Regions from separate parts of the Homo sapiens genome. Here regions 2, 3 and 4 are each linked to region 1. Evidence: promoter capture Hi-C in human tissues and cell types (Jung and others, 2019). All regions are on one chromosome and are shown on one strand. Each heading gives the region's core, a stretch centred on a gene start or on the middle of the fragment in contact. The rest is flanking DNA. Distances are from core to core; before and after follow the strand shown. Region 1 holds the start of RSPO2 (R-spondin 2). Region 2 has its middle 55 kb from the start of RSPO2. Region 3 overlaps RSPO2 (R-spondin 2). Region 4 has its middle 39 kb from the start of RSPO2.

The links. The method cuts DNA at HindIII sites, captures the fragments that hold promoters and counts their contacts. A contact is called where the count stands out against the background at its distance.
Region 2: a fragment that was not itself captured here is called in contact with the fragment with the promoter of RSPO2 in region 1 in 3 of the 25 tissues and cell types used here (H1 embryonic stem cells, heart left ventricle and spleen).
Region 3: a fragment that was not itself captured here is called in contact with the fragment with the promoter of RSPO2 in region 1 in 4 of the 25 tissues and cell types used here (bladder, neural progenitor cells, psoas muscle and 1 more).
Region 4: a fragment that was not itself captured here is called in contact with the fragment with the promoter of RSPO2 in region 1 in 1 of the 25 tissues and cell types used here (pancreas).

The regions. Positions count from the first base shown.
Region 1 is chr8:108,082,096-108,085,152 of GRCh38, forward strand. RSPO2 (R-spondin 2) reads right to left here and starts at 1,525. Exons shown (of 6, transcript NM_178565.5): 1 at 1,102-1,525; 2 at 450-712. The coding sequence starts at 543. RefSeq lists an enhancer at 1-664 and a silencer at 381-556. The HindIII fragment of the contact is 6,606 bases long and covers 1-3,057 here.
Region 2 is chr8:108,136,791-108,139,847 of GRCh38, forward strand. No RefSeq gene overlaps it. Among named protein-coding and RNA genes, the nearest start is that of RSPO2, 55 kb to the left of the region's middle. The HindIII fragment of the contact is 3,964 bases long and covers 1-3,057 here.
Region 3 is chr8:108,035,474-108,038,530 of GRCh38, forward strand. All of the region lies in intron 2 of RSPO2 (R-spondin 2), which reads right to left. Among named protein-coding and RNA genes, the nearest start is that of RSPO2, 47 kb to the right of the region's middle. The HindIII fragment of the contact is 7,457 bases long and covers 1-3,057 here.
Region 4 is chr8:108,120,688-108,123,744 of GRCh38, forward strand. No RefSeq gene overlaps it. Among named protein-coding and RNA genes, the nearest start is that of RSPO2, 39 kb to the left of the region's middle. The HindIII fragment of the contact is 3,236 bases long and covers 1-3,057 here.

The sequences.
Region 1 (3,057 bases), core at 275-2,774:
CTGAGGCCGGGTTTGGGGCGCACGTGGATGGGGAAGATAAAACAAATGAGCTACAGGGAAGATGGTTAGGAGGACAGAGAGAAGAACAACGACGACAAAAAAAAAATGCATGTCAGATAAGAAATACGTCCTAAAGAGACAAGTTTAGATGAGGAGGTGGGGCGGCGAACATGAGTGCGGACCGCACGACTTAGCCCTGAGCGCCCGATTGGCGCCCGGCTCGCCGAGCTCCCAGCGCGTCTCGCTCCGGCTCCCCGCGCCTCCAGGGTACAGAAAACAGAGTGTTTTGTAGAGCTCCAGGGTCCTAAAGGTGGGGACTGGGGACCCGCAAAAGCTGGGGTGGAGAGCACAGCCCTGACCATCTGAGCCCCCGGAGCCAGGGCGTGAGTGAGCGCCTCCACACGCCACCCCTGAAGCCCACCACGCACCTTTGGCAGAGAGGGACCCACCTCGCTTACTGCGTCTCCATCGGTTGCCTTGGCAGTGGCTGTAATCCATGCAGTTCAGAATGATGAGGGCAAAGGAGAAAAGGCGAAACTGCATCTGGGCGGTCGGGCGGGGGAGAGACGCCTCTCAAAGTCTAGGAACTGGAGGGTTCGCCCAAAGAGCCGGCGCCGGCCGCGCTGCTGGGGAGGACTCAGAGGGAGACTCGCCACTCACCCCCGGGCCGCACCGGTCAGTTCAGCGCGATCAGCATCTCTCCGCCACGAACCTGAGAGACAAGAAGCGAAAACAGGGTGTGTGGGGGATGGAGAGAGCCCCGGGGAGGCAGCTGCGCCTTCGCACGTCCCAATTTAAAGAAGAGAGGGAAGGAGGAAGCGAACCCACTGCCTAGCACGAGCCGCGGAGCGGCTTAATCCAGAGCGGGCAGCTGCGGACGAGTTGGAGAGGAAGGTGATTATAATCAGTGAATTAGCAACCTCTGCCGAGCCCTAAGCTCCGACCCAGCGGCATAATGCGTTGTGCCGGCGCTCCGGGGAAAGGAAAGAACTCTAAAGGCACTGAGAGCGCAGGGCTAAAAGAACGCTCTTAGGCCATTTGGAGTCCACGGCGGTGTACCCAAGCGCCGCAGCTGCGGCTGCCTTGGTGTGGGTTGCCTACCGTGCGCACGTCTCGGGCGGCGCGGCCTCCCTAGGCGCGGTGCTCCATCCCGGGCTCGGGAAGCGAGCCGCTTGGTTAGCACGTGGGCTGGGGAAAAGTTTGCCGAGACCGGCTGGGAGCGCCTGGCAGCTCTGGAATTCCAGCGGCCGCCGCGGGGTTGGCGACGCCAGGCAGGAGCGCGGAGCGGCGGGTGCAGCCACTGGGATGCTCCGTCCCCGCCCGCGAGCGCGGTCCCCAGGCAAGGGGTGCGCCCGCTCACACTCTCTGCCTCCCTAACCAATTGTGTCGCTTCCTGCGCTTTCTCCACGGTCACTTCACAGCTAAGATTTCTTTCTTTCCGAGCTGTAGAAGGCAGAACGCTCTCGGGAGGACGAAGTGATCCGAAGGGATGTGGCAAGCGCACTTTCCGATGGAGATGCAGACCGGCTGAGGCTTGGGATGCTTCTATAAGTAGGTGGTGCTGTGGTCCAAGGCATCTAAGTCTAGGCTGCCTCGGAGTTCCTGGGTCCTAAAGCCAGAAACGTCCCGGTTTCCCTGAGGTCCTAAAGAACGTTGACAGCCAACAGCGCGCCTAACTTGGAGCGAATCCTCTTCGGGCTTTCCAGAGTGCGGGGGATAGATAAAGAGTAGCTGGGGAGACGCCCCCTGACCTTGCTGGGTCCCAGAACCCGGCTGCTCACCCCCAAGGGGTCCTCTCCAGCCCTCTAGGGTCAGTTCCAACCTCAGCGCCAACCTTTCTGCAGGGAGATCTGACTGAAGGACTGATGACTCCCTTTAAACTTTTGCAATATGCCACAACTCTGCCACTTTTTAATTTACATCTTGTCTGTGTTTTGCAGGAAGGTATGTTAGCCGGCTGAAATTATTCATAAAACGCGCCCCCACTTTGAGGAGTGAAATGGGTATTCCCAACAGCTTTTGTTCATCCTCAGAACTGTTATTTACTTTGTTTCTTCTCCAATAAAACAAAAACCTGTGATCCGTTGCCTGAAGTGCTGAAGAAGTTGGGGCCTTGATTCTTTAAAAATAATTTTAAAAAGTTCACTTCCCACTAAAGTATTTTTCATTCTTAATCCTCCTCTCATTTCCAAAGTCTCCTGAATTAAACTTTTAGGTGCTTTGGGTTTGGGGAAAATATTCTGTTTAACAAAGTGTTACATTAAATAGACTTGATGCCATCCAATTTCATTCTGGTGAAATCTGTCCTGCATTCACTACTGTAGGAAAAAATGTATTTATTCCTTAAGCAAAAGATAAGAATTTATGCCACTAACCGTGGCAGTATGAATGTCTATAGATATGCCCGCAGTTACCATATTATTATGATAGCATTTTATACTATTTAAATTCCCTTTTCTATTCCTTCAGTTTCAGAAGATGTTCAGAAATTTGATGACTTAAAAGACAATCATATAAAAAGAATATTGCAATACTCATATTTATTAACTATTCCATTATTGCCTATTCATAACTATTTTACAGACTCACTATTACATAGTGGTATTTATGTGCTAAGAATTTCAGCAGTATGCCTTTGATGCATGCCTGAGAACACCCAAGTAAATCTGAGTTGAGGTCATTGGTCCCATTTCATAGATAAGAAAATCCATCACTGAGACTGGCCCACAGGGCACAAATAGAGTTCACAAAACACATTGCAGAAACAGTGGATCTGTTTCTTGACTTTTGAGCCTTTGATTTTTATCACAGAATTTGGAAACATTTCAGTGTAGGGAGTGGCCCCAGTGTTTGGCATAACTTGATATTTCTTGATCATCTTGATATGATGCTGAATATCTCTTCAGCACCATAAATACTACTTCTTTCCAAATATAGTCATATATGCACACAACAAATGAATTATACTTATAAAGGAGTTAAATCTATGGGAGAAAGGAAGTCTTCCCTAAGTAAGCCCCCCTGCCTCCTTGCAAAGCTTTGAGATCCATTCAAGAT
Region 2 (3,057 bases), core at 241-2,740, 55 kb after region 1:
TTCCTTCTGTTGGCCCACAGAAGATTATTTTTATATCTTCATTTGGGTTTTCTTATGGAATCTTGAGTCAGAACTCTCTCCAGAATGATCGTTGGGGAAGCTACCATAGCTTCAGAGGGAGAAGGTACAAGCAACATTTTCTCTCTCTCTTTTTTTTTCTTTGAAATAATCCCAGAGAAGAAGTTTGAGGGAAACTTGGTTGGATTTATAATCCTCCTGCATCAGAAAACAGCAACAAAAACTTCCAGTAGCTGACTTCACACAGCAGTTTCAAAACCAGAAACCAAAATAAACTGCCAATAGGAGCATCGATGGCAAGATTTCTTGCATTTTTCCTGTTGTGTAACCTAGCCTCCATTTCACCTTCCCTCCCAGAGATCATTCAATGTGGAGGGATCAGTTCTCCTTTCCTGCCCCAAGCAAGTGGCCAATGAATGTATCTGCAGTTTATAAGATTCCTCAGTCAGATTGGATGTGACAGAACAAGACTTTGGCAGGATCTGGGGTGTCTGGGTGACAAGGATCTGAGACTGTGATTTCTCTGCCACCTTTACTCCTGATTAGGGAGGGTGGCTCAAAGAGAGCACAGAGTTCAGGGAACGTATATGTAAAAAAGTGAGCACTTGGTTACAAGTAAAATCTAGGTTAGAAGTGAAATTGTTTGCAGCATTCAAGAGTGAGTGGAGTCAAGAAAGGTCAGCAGGTTGCTGCCAACAGATATGAGCGAAAAAGGAATGATTTAGTATTAGCAGTGGCAGTGGGACCCACTGAATAGTAGTATGCATGTGACTTTAACGTTTATAATAACAAGAGTAGAATAAAAATAGCTACCATTGACCAAGCACCTGCCATGCCCCGCTGTGGCAAGTTTTCCCCATCTATTAACTCAGGCACAATACCATGTATTCAATCCTTTTAACTCCATCTCTCAGATGAGGGCCTCAAGAAGCAGGAAGGTTAATAGATTGAGCATGGTCATTTAGTTGCAAAAAAAAGAAGAGCTGGAATTTCAACTAAGGTCTATCTGACTCCAACTTAGCCATCCCTGCCTCCTGTGCAAGGCTGCTGTAATGGGAGCTTTGGAATGGCCTCTGGATGGAGGGTTCAAGCTTTGACTTGTGTCCTCCTTCCAAGCTATTTGCCAGTCACGCTATTGCATAAGGGGAAAGGAAGGGAAAGTGGGGAGGTGATTCCTACTTTATTCCTCTCTTGGGAGTGGCTTCGCTCTATTCCTAGAAATGGGGCAAATGGATCTTTTCTATGGGTTGATGAATAGCAAAGAGAAGCCCATAGACGGGCATCTTGCCACACCCTCCACCACCATATATCTACCCCAGGGCCCCTGGATCCACAGGGTACCCACCTAGACCGATCTTGATTGCTTTATTTTCCTGTCAGAAAACTCAACTCGTTAGTAATTCCTCTGTTTCTAATAACGCTTCATCCAGGCTTAGCATTTGATGACTCTTCACACGCCTCCCCGTGAGTATGGCTTCCTTCAGCTGCCAGCGTGGAGAGAAGCTACAGGGACACCAGGAAGCCCCAGGGCCACGGCTTCCTTGGCAGAATCTCCAAAGAACACAAATATTCCCATTTTTCTTTTTGGCAGAAGTGGTGGATAAGTGCATTAACAAAAACAGGAATATGATGAAGGGAGGCTGAGAAGAAAGGGGTGAAGAGGAGAAACTCCTGATCAAATAAGAAGTCCACAGGGAGCTCATCCCCTGTGCTGCTGGGTGGTCTAGATTGTGTGTTTTAGACTCATGCAGATGAGAGTCTTATCTCCTGTGTTCTCAGCAGTTACTACCACATTGTCAGAGCTCCACACATTTTGGTTTTCCGTGGTGGTGACAAAAACACTTCTCTTCCCCACAGCTAACTATAAAAATAATAATGATGCCTGTGATGATAGCTATCATGTATATGACCCTGTGCACAACACTTTACAGGATGGTGATGATAATTCACACTTTTATAGTTTACCATGAACCAGCAATGTTCTAAGTGATCAACAGACAGACAGGTTAACTTATATGTCAATATATGAATTAACATATTAATCCTTACTGCAAAACTATGAAGTTGGTACTATTATCCTATTTTACAGAATAGAAACTGAAGAACAAAGAGTTAAGTGACTTGCCCAAGGTCATGAATATGAAAAGTGGCTATTTATCCCCCAGGAAACTAAGGTTCAGAGGGGCTAAGTCAACTGCTCAAGGTCACATAGTGAGAAAGTGGTAAAACTGAGTCTCAAACAAAATCTGCAGGAATCCAAAGTAAATACTATTAACTGCTAGGCTAGATTAACTCTCTCTATACACACAACTACATACACACATATATATGTAGATACACATATGCACATACATCCTAGAAAACTAGAAGTTTTTACCCCAAAATTTGGGACTCCTGGATTCTAAGACAGTATTTTTTATTGCCTCCAAAAATTGTACATCTTGGTATACATAGAAAAGCATTACATTTGAAGGTGACTTGGGCTACATAGAAAAGGCACCTCGAGGCTCTTTTTGACCCTGACCTGTGAGCTGAAAGATCAGTATTTTGGCACACCTGAAATCCACTTTGTTCAGAAAGTTCTGGCTTAGAGAAATGTTCCAGGCATGAAAGCAAGAAGTGAGTTGAGAACCTACCCCATCATCCCCTTCTCACCTCTCCCATTTCTCTGCTCTTTCACTTGCTCTGCATTTCACTGTACCCAGGAATAAGAAGAAATATATTGAATAAAGTCAGTTTCACTAAAAACAAACAAATATGCTCTGCCACCTGAAAGATTCCCATTTCAAGTCTCCTTCTCCTTTCTTATTCCTCCAGGAAAGCAGAATGATAGTAATTAAAATGGAAGCATGAAGAGGCCCTGGGCATATCGCAAACACCATTTGCCTAAAAGACTTCCAAGCTGCAGAACCCACTTTTTTCCCCCGTGAATGAGCAGCAACTACTGTCCTGCCATGCCGTCATCAAAACCTGCCTGCTGGATGAGCAGCGCAGGCGTGTGAAGGCGCTGGGTTTCCCTCTGAGCCAAAGCGGCGGGAG
Region 3 (3,057 bases), core at 150-2,649, 47 kb before region 1:
TTTTGTTTTTGTTTTGAGACGGAGTCTCGCTCTGTTGCGCAGGCTGGAGTGCAGTGGCGCGATCTTGGCTCACTGCAAGCTCCACCTCCTGGGTTCACACCATTCTCCTGCCTCAGCCTCCCGAGTAGCTGGGACTACAGGCACCCGCCACCATGCCCGGCTAATTTTTTTGTATTTTTAGTAGAGATGGGGTTTCACCGTGTTAGCCAGGATGGTTTCGATCTCCTGACCTCATGATCTGCCTGCCTCGGCCTCCCAAAGTGCTGGGATTACAGGCAATTCCTCACCAGTTCTTAAATTTTTGATTCCTAGACATAGAATCTGAGATTGCCCCAGAAGAGACTGTTTCAGTTTCGCTGGATTGGGAACTGGGCTCTTGAGTCACCAAATGCTCCCTGGGTTACTTTCACCATTTTCAGGTTTGGGAACCACCAAGTCTATCTATATGCTGGCTAATAAAAACATTTTTCATGATTTTGGTAAATATATTACAAAGATAGAGACCCAGAGGCATCTTATGAATCTAGGCATACTGTCCTCCAAGTATTAGACAGCAACTTTTCAGTTTGTTCTAAAATCCAAAGTATTTTTTTGAAAATTTGGTAGAATTAGCAATGGGCATTTCCTTCATGCCAGGTAAACTAATACAGGTGATTTGCTATCCTTAGAGATATTAAGCAAATAAAACCCAAAACCTAAAAAACACCCCACTTCAGGCTGACCCTCATTAGGAATGCAGCTGGTGACTTTAAATGAAACCAATGCTTATTTACCATTCCAAAAATCCTAGATCCCTTAAGAATTATGCTAAATCTATTCCGCCTGTGTGCTATAAATGGAGCAGCAAAGCCTGGATAACAGCACATCTGTTTACAGCATGGTTTACTGAAAATATGCTAACATATATAGCAAAAGATCCTCTCTGCCCCCTCTGCAAAACTGACCATCTTTCAAGTTTCTGCACCTATGACAACCATTTCTGTCAAGACCTGAACTGTCATTCAGGCAAGGAAGCCTGTGGCACATCATAAAGACCTGTGTGATGCCTGTGGCCATGGCGCTTTTCAATGTTAGGCTGTAGCTATACCTTTACCCATTTGTCCCACAAGTTTGAACATTCCCAAAACAAAGACCACGTGTTACAAAAATATCTCATTTTCTTGCATTTCACTTTATTGTGCTTCACAGATATTGCAGAATTCTTGCTGGGGGTGAGGTGGGAGGAAGGTTGTTGTTTTATATATTGAAGGTTTCTGGCAACCTTACGTCAAGTCTATTGGCACCATTCTTCCAACAGCATGAGCTCCCTTCTTCTGTCACATTTTGGTAATGCTTGCAATATTTAAAATTTTTCATTATTATTAATCTGTTATGGTGATCTGTGTTCAGTGATCTTTGATGTTACTTTTGTAATTGTTTTGGGGCACCAAAAACTGCACCCACATAAGATGGCAAACTTGACCAATCAATGTTGTGTGTTCTGACTGCTCCACTAACTGTTGCCATCTCTCTCACTCTCTCCTCAGGCCTCCCTATGCCCTGTGGTACAACAATATTGAAATTAAGACAATTAGTAACCCTACAGTGGCCTCTAAGTATTCAAGAGGAGGAGTCCTATATCTCTCACTTTAAATAAAAAACTAGACGTGATTAAGCTTAGTGAGCAGGGCATGTTAAAAGCCAAGATAGGTCAAAAGCTAGGCCCCTCAAGTTGTGAATGCAAAGGAAAAGTTCTTGAAGAACATTAAAAGTGCTATTCTAGTGAAAACACAGATAGGTGAAACAGCCATATTACCGATGTGGAGAAAGTTTTAGAAGTCTGGATAGAAGAATAAACCAGCCAGAACATTCCTTTAAGCCAAAGCCTAATCCAGAGCAAGATCCTAACTCTCTTTAACTCTACAAAGACTGAGAGAGATGAGGAAGCTGCAGAAGTTAAATTTGAAGCTAGCAGAGGTTGGTTCATGAGGTTTAAGGAAAGAAGTCATCTCCATAACATGAAAGTGCAAAGTGAAACAGTAAGTATTGATGTAGAAGCTACAGCAAGTTGTCTAGAAGATTTAATGAAGAAATGAAGGTGGCTACACTAAAAAACAGATTTTTAAATGTAGATTAAAAAGCCTGCTACTGGGAGAAGATGCCACCCAGGATTTTCATAGCTAGAGAGATGTGAATGTCTAACTTCAAAGAACAGGCTGACTCTCTTGTTAGGGGCTAATGCAGCCAGTGATTTGAAGTGGAGGCCAATGCTCATTTACACCTTGAAAATCTTATGGCCCTTAAAAATTATACTAGCTCTACTCTGCCTGTGCTCTATAAGTGGAATAACAAAACCTCCATGACAGCACACCTGTTTACAGCATGGTTTACTGAAGGTTTTAAGCCCGCTGTTGAGACCTACTACTCATTGACAATGCACCTGGGTCAACCAAGAGCTCTGATGGAGATGTACAAGGAGATTAATGTTTTCATGCCTGCTAACACAAGATCCATTATGTAGCCAGTGGATCAAGGAGTAATTTCAACTTTCAAGTCTTATTATTTAATAAATATTTCATAAGGCTACAGCTGCCATATATAGTGATTCCTCTAATGAATCTGGGAAAAGTAAATTGAAAACCTCCAGGAAAGGGTTCACCCTTCTAGACGCCATTAAAAACATTAGTGATTCATGGGAGAAGGTCAAAATATCAACATTATCAGGAGTTAAGTAGATTCCAGCCCTCATGTATAACTTCAGGGGTTCAAAACTTCAGTGGAGTGAGTAATTGCAGACATGGTAGAAATGGCAAGAGAACTAGATGGAGAAGTGAAGCCTGAAGATGTGACTGAATTGCTACAATTTCATGATAAAACTTGAATGGATGAGGAGTTGCTTCTTATGGATAAGCAAAGAAAGTGTTTCTTGAGATGGAATCTACTCCTGGTGAGAATGCTATAAACATCACGGAAACAACAACAGATGATTTAGAATATTACATAAATGTAGTTGATTAATTAAAGCAGTGGCAAGGTTTGACAGGATTGACTCCGATTCTAAAAGAAATGCTACTATGG
Region 4 (3,057 bases), core at 237-2,736, 39 kb after region 1:
GCTTCCTACCTTCTTGACATTTCTAGCTATTTCTAGTTATCAAATTCCCAGGAGCTCAGATGCCAGTATTTATTTCCTATTTTGTATTGCTTAGAGTTGTCTGGCCTCCTGAGTCAAGACATTCAGACTTGCCCTTCACTTTTATAAATGTTTACATCTCAGAGTCAGTCTATCAGCCTTTAATTTGTGGAAGGATTTTCCACCCAACTAATAATACATTTTTATTTCTTATATTTTCCCTTCCCCATTTCAAGCAGATAGCCAGGGCCTTACTATTTCCTTGGCTCAGATAATTTTGCTGAGAAGAAGGCAGAAAAGAAACTGCTTGATGAAGATGAATTTTTTTTGTGGCTTTAGAAAAACTTACTGAAGAGTTAATATTAAATATTTTAAATGGGTAGAAGAAAGAAATGTAGACCAGGCAGTTTCTTCATAGTGTCAATAGTCTTTACAATTTGGTATGCTTTTGCAGTGGCTGGTACTGGTTTTCAATCCCATATTTAGTGCTTCCTTCAGGAGCTCTTGTAAGGCAGGCCTGGTGGTGGTAAAAGTCTCTCAGCATTTGCTTGTCTGTAAAGGATTTTATTTCTCCTTCATTTATGAAGCTTAGTTTGGCTAGATATGAAATTCTGGGTTGAATATTCTTTTCTTTAAGAATGTTGAATATTGGCCCCCACTCTCTTCTGGCTTGTAGGATTTCCACAGAGAGACCTGCTGTTAGTCTGATGGGCTTCCCTTTGTGGGTAACCTGACCTTTCTCTCTGGTTGCCCTTAACATTTTTTCCTTCATTTCAACCTTGGTGAATCTGATGAATATGTGTCTTGAGGTTGCTTTTCTTGAGGAATATCTTTGTGGTGTTCTCTGTATTTCCTGAATTTGAATGTTGGCCTGTTTTGCTAGGTTGGAGTTCTCCTGTATAACATCCTAAAGAGTGTTTTCCAACTTGGTTCGTTTGTCCCCATCACTTTCAGGTACACCACTCAAACTAGGTTTGGTCTTTTCACATAGTCCTATATTTCTTGGAGGCTTTGTTCTTTCCTTTTCATGATTTTTTCTCTAATCGTGTCTTCATGCTTTATTTCATTAAGTTGATCTTCAACCTCTGATATCCTTTCTTCCACTTGATCAGTTCAGCTATTGATACTTGTATATGCATCACAAAGTTCTCATGCTGTGTTTTTCAGCTCCATCACGTCATTTATGTTCTTCTCTAAACTGGATATTCTAGTTAGCAATTCCTCTATCCTTTTTTCCAGGTTCTTAGTTTCCTTGCATTGGGTAAGAATATGCTCCTTTAGCTCAGAAGGGTTTGTTATTACCCACCTTCTGACGCCTACTTATGTCAATTCGTCAAACTCATTCTCCATCCAGTTTTGTTCCCTTGCTGGCGAGGAGTTGTGATCCTTTGGAGGAGAAGAGGCATTCTGGTTTTTGGAATTTTCAACCTTTTTGTGCTGGTTTTCCACACCTTCATGGATTTATCTACCTTTGGTCTTTGATGTTGGTGACCTTCGAATGCGGTTTCTGTGTGGACATCCTTTTTGTTGATGTTGATGCTATTCCTTTCTGTTTGTTAGTTTTCCTTCTAACAGTCAGGCCCCTCTGCTGCAGGTCTGGTGGAATTTGCTGGAGGTCCACTCCAGACGCTGTTTGCCTCACCCGCAGTGGCTGCAGAACAGCAAAGATTGCTGCCTGTTCCTTCCTCTGGAAGCTTCATTCCAGAGGGGCACCTGCCATATCCCAGCCAGAGCTCTCCTGTATGAAGTGTCTGTCGACCCCAGCTGGGAGTGTCTCCTAGTCAGGAGGCACAGGGGTCAGAGACCAATTGAGGAGGCAGTCTGTCCCTTAGCAGAGCTCGAGAACTGTGCTGGGAGATCCACTGCTGTCCTCAGAGCCAGCAGGCAGGAATATTTAAGTCTGCTGAAGCTGCAACCACAGCTGCCCCTTCCCCCAGGTGCTCTGTCCCAGGGAGATGGGAGTTTTATCTATAAACTCCTGACTGGGGCAGCTGCCTTTCTTTCAGAGATGCCCTGCCCCGAGAGGAGGAATCTAGAGAGGCAGTCTGGCTACTGTGGCTTTGCAGAGCTGCAGTGGGCTTGACTCAGTTCGAACTTCCAGGCAGCTTTGTTTACACTATGAGGGGAAAACCGCCTACTAAACCCTCAATGATGGTGGACTCCCCTCTCCCCACCAAGCTCGAGTGTCCCAGGTCAACTTCAGACTGCTGTGCTGGCAGTGAGAATTTCAACCCAATCAATCTTAGCTTGCTGGGCTCTGTGGCAGTGGGATCCGCTGGGCTACACCACTTGGCTCCCTGGCTTCAGCCCCCCTTGTAGGGGAGTGAATGGTTCTATCTTGCTGGTGTTCCAGGAGCCACTGGGGTATGAAGAAAAACTCCTGCAGCTAGCTCGGTGTCTGCCCAAATGGCCGCCCAGTTTTGTGCTTGAAACCCAGGGCCCTGGTGGTACAGGCACCCAAGGGAATCTCCTGGTCTGCGGGTTGAGAAGACCTTGGGAAAAGTGTAGGAACTGGGGTGGAATGCACAGTTCCTCATGGCACAGTCCTTCACAGCTTCCCTTGGCTAGGGGAGGGAGTTCCCTGAACCCTTGCACTTCCCAGGAGAAACAACGCCCCACCCTGCTTCAGCTCTCCCTCCATGAGCTGCACCCACTGTTTAACCAGTCCCAATGAGATAAGCCTGGTACCTCAGTGGAAATGCAAAATCACCCACCTTCTGCGTTGATCTCACTGGGAGCTAAAGACCAGAGTTTTCCTATTAGGCCACCTTGCCAGCATCAACTAATGGGCAAAATAACCAGCTAGCATCATAATGACAGGATCAAATTCACACATACCAATATTAACCTTAAATGTAAATGGGCTAAATTCCCCAATTAAAAGACACAGACTGGCAAATTGGATAAAAAGTCAGGACCCATCCAGGTGCTACATACAAGAGACCCATCTCATGTGCAAAGACACGCATAGGCTCAAAGTAAAGGGATAAAAGAATATTTATGAAGTAAATGGAAAGCAAAAAAAGCAGGGATTAAAAT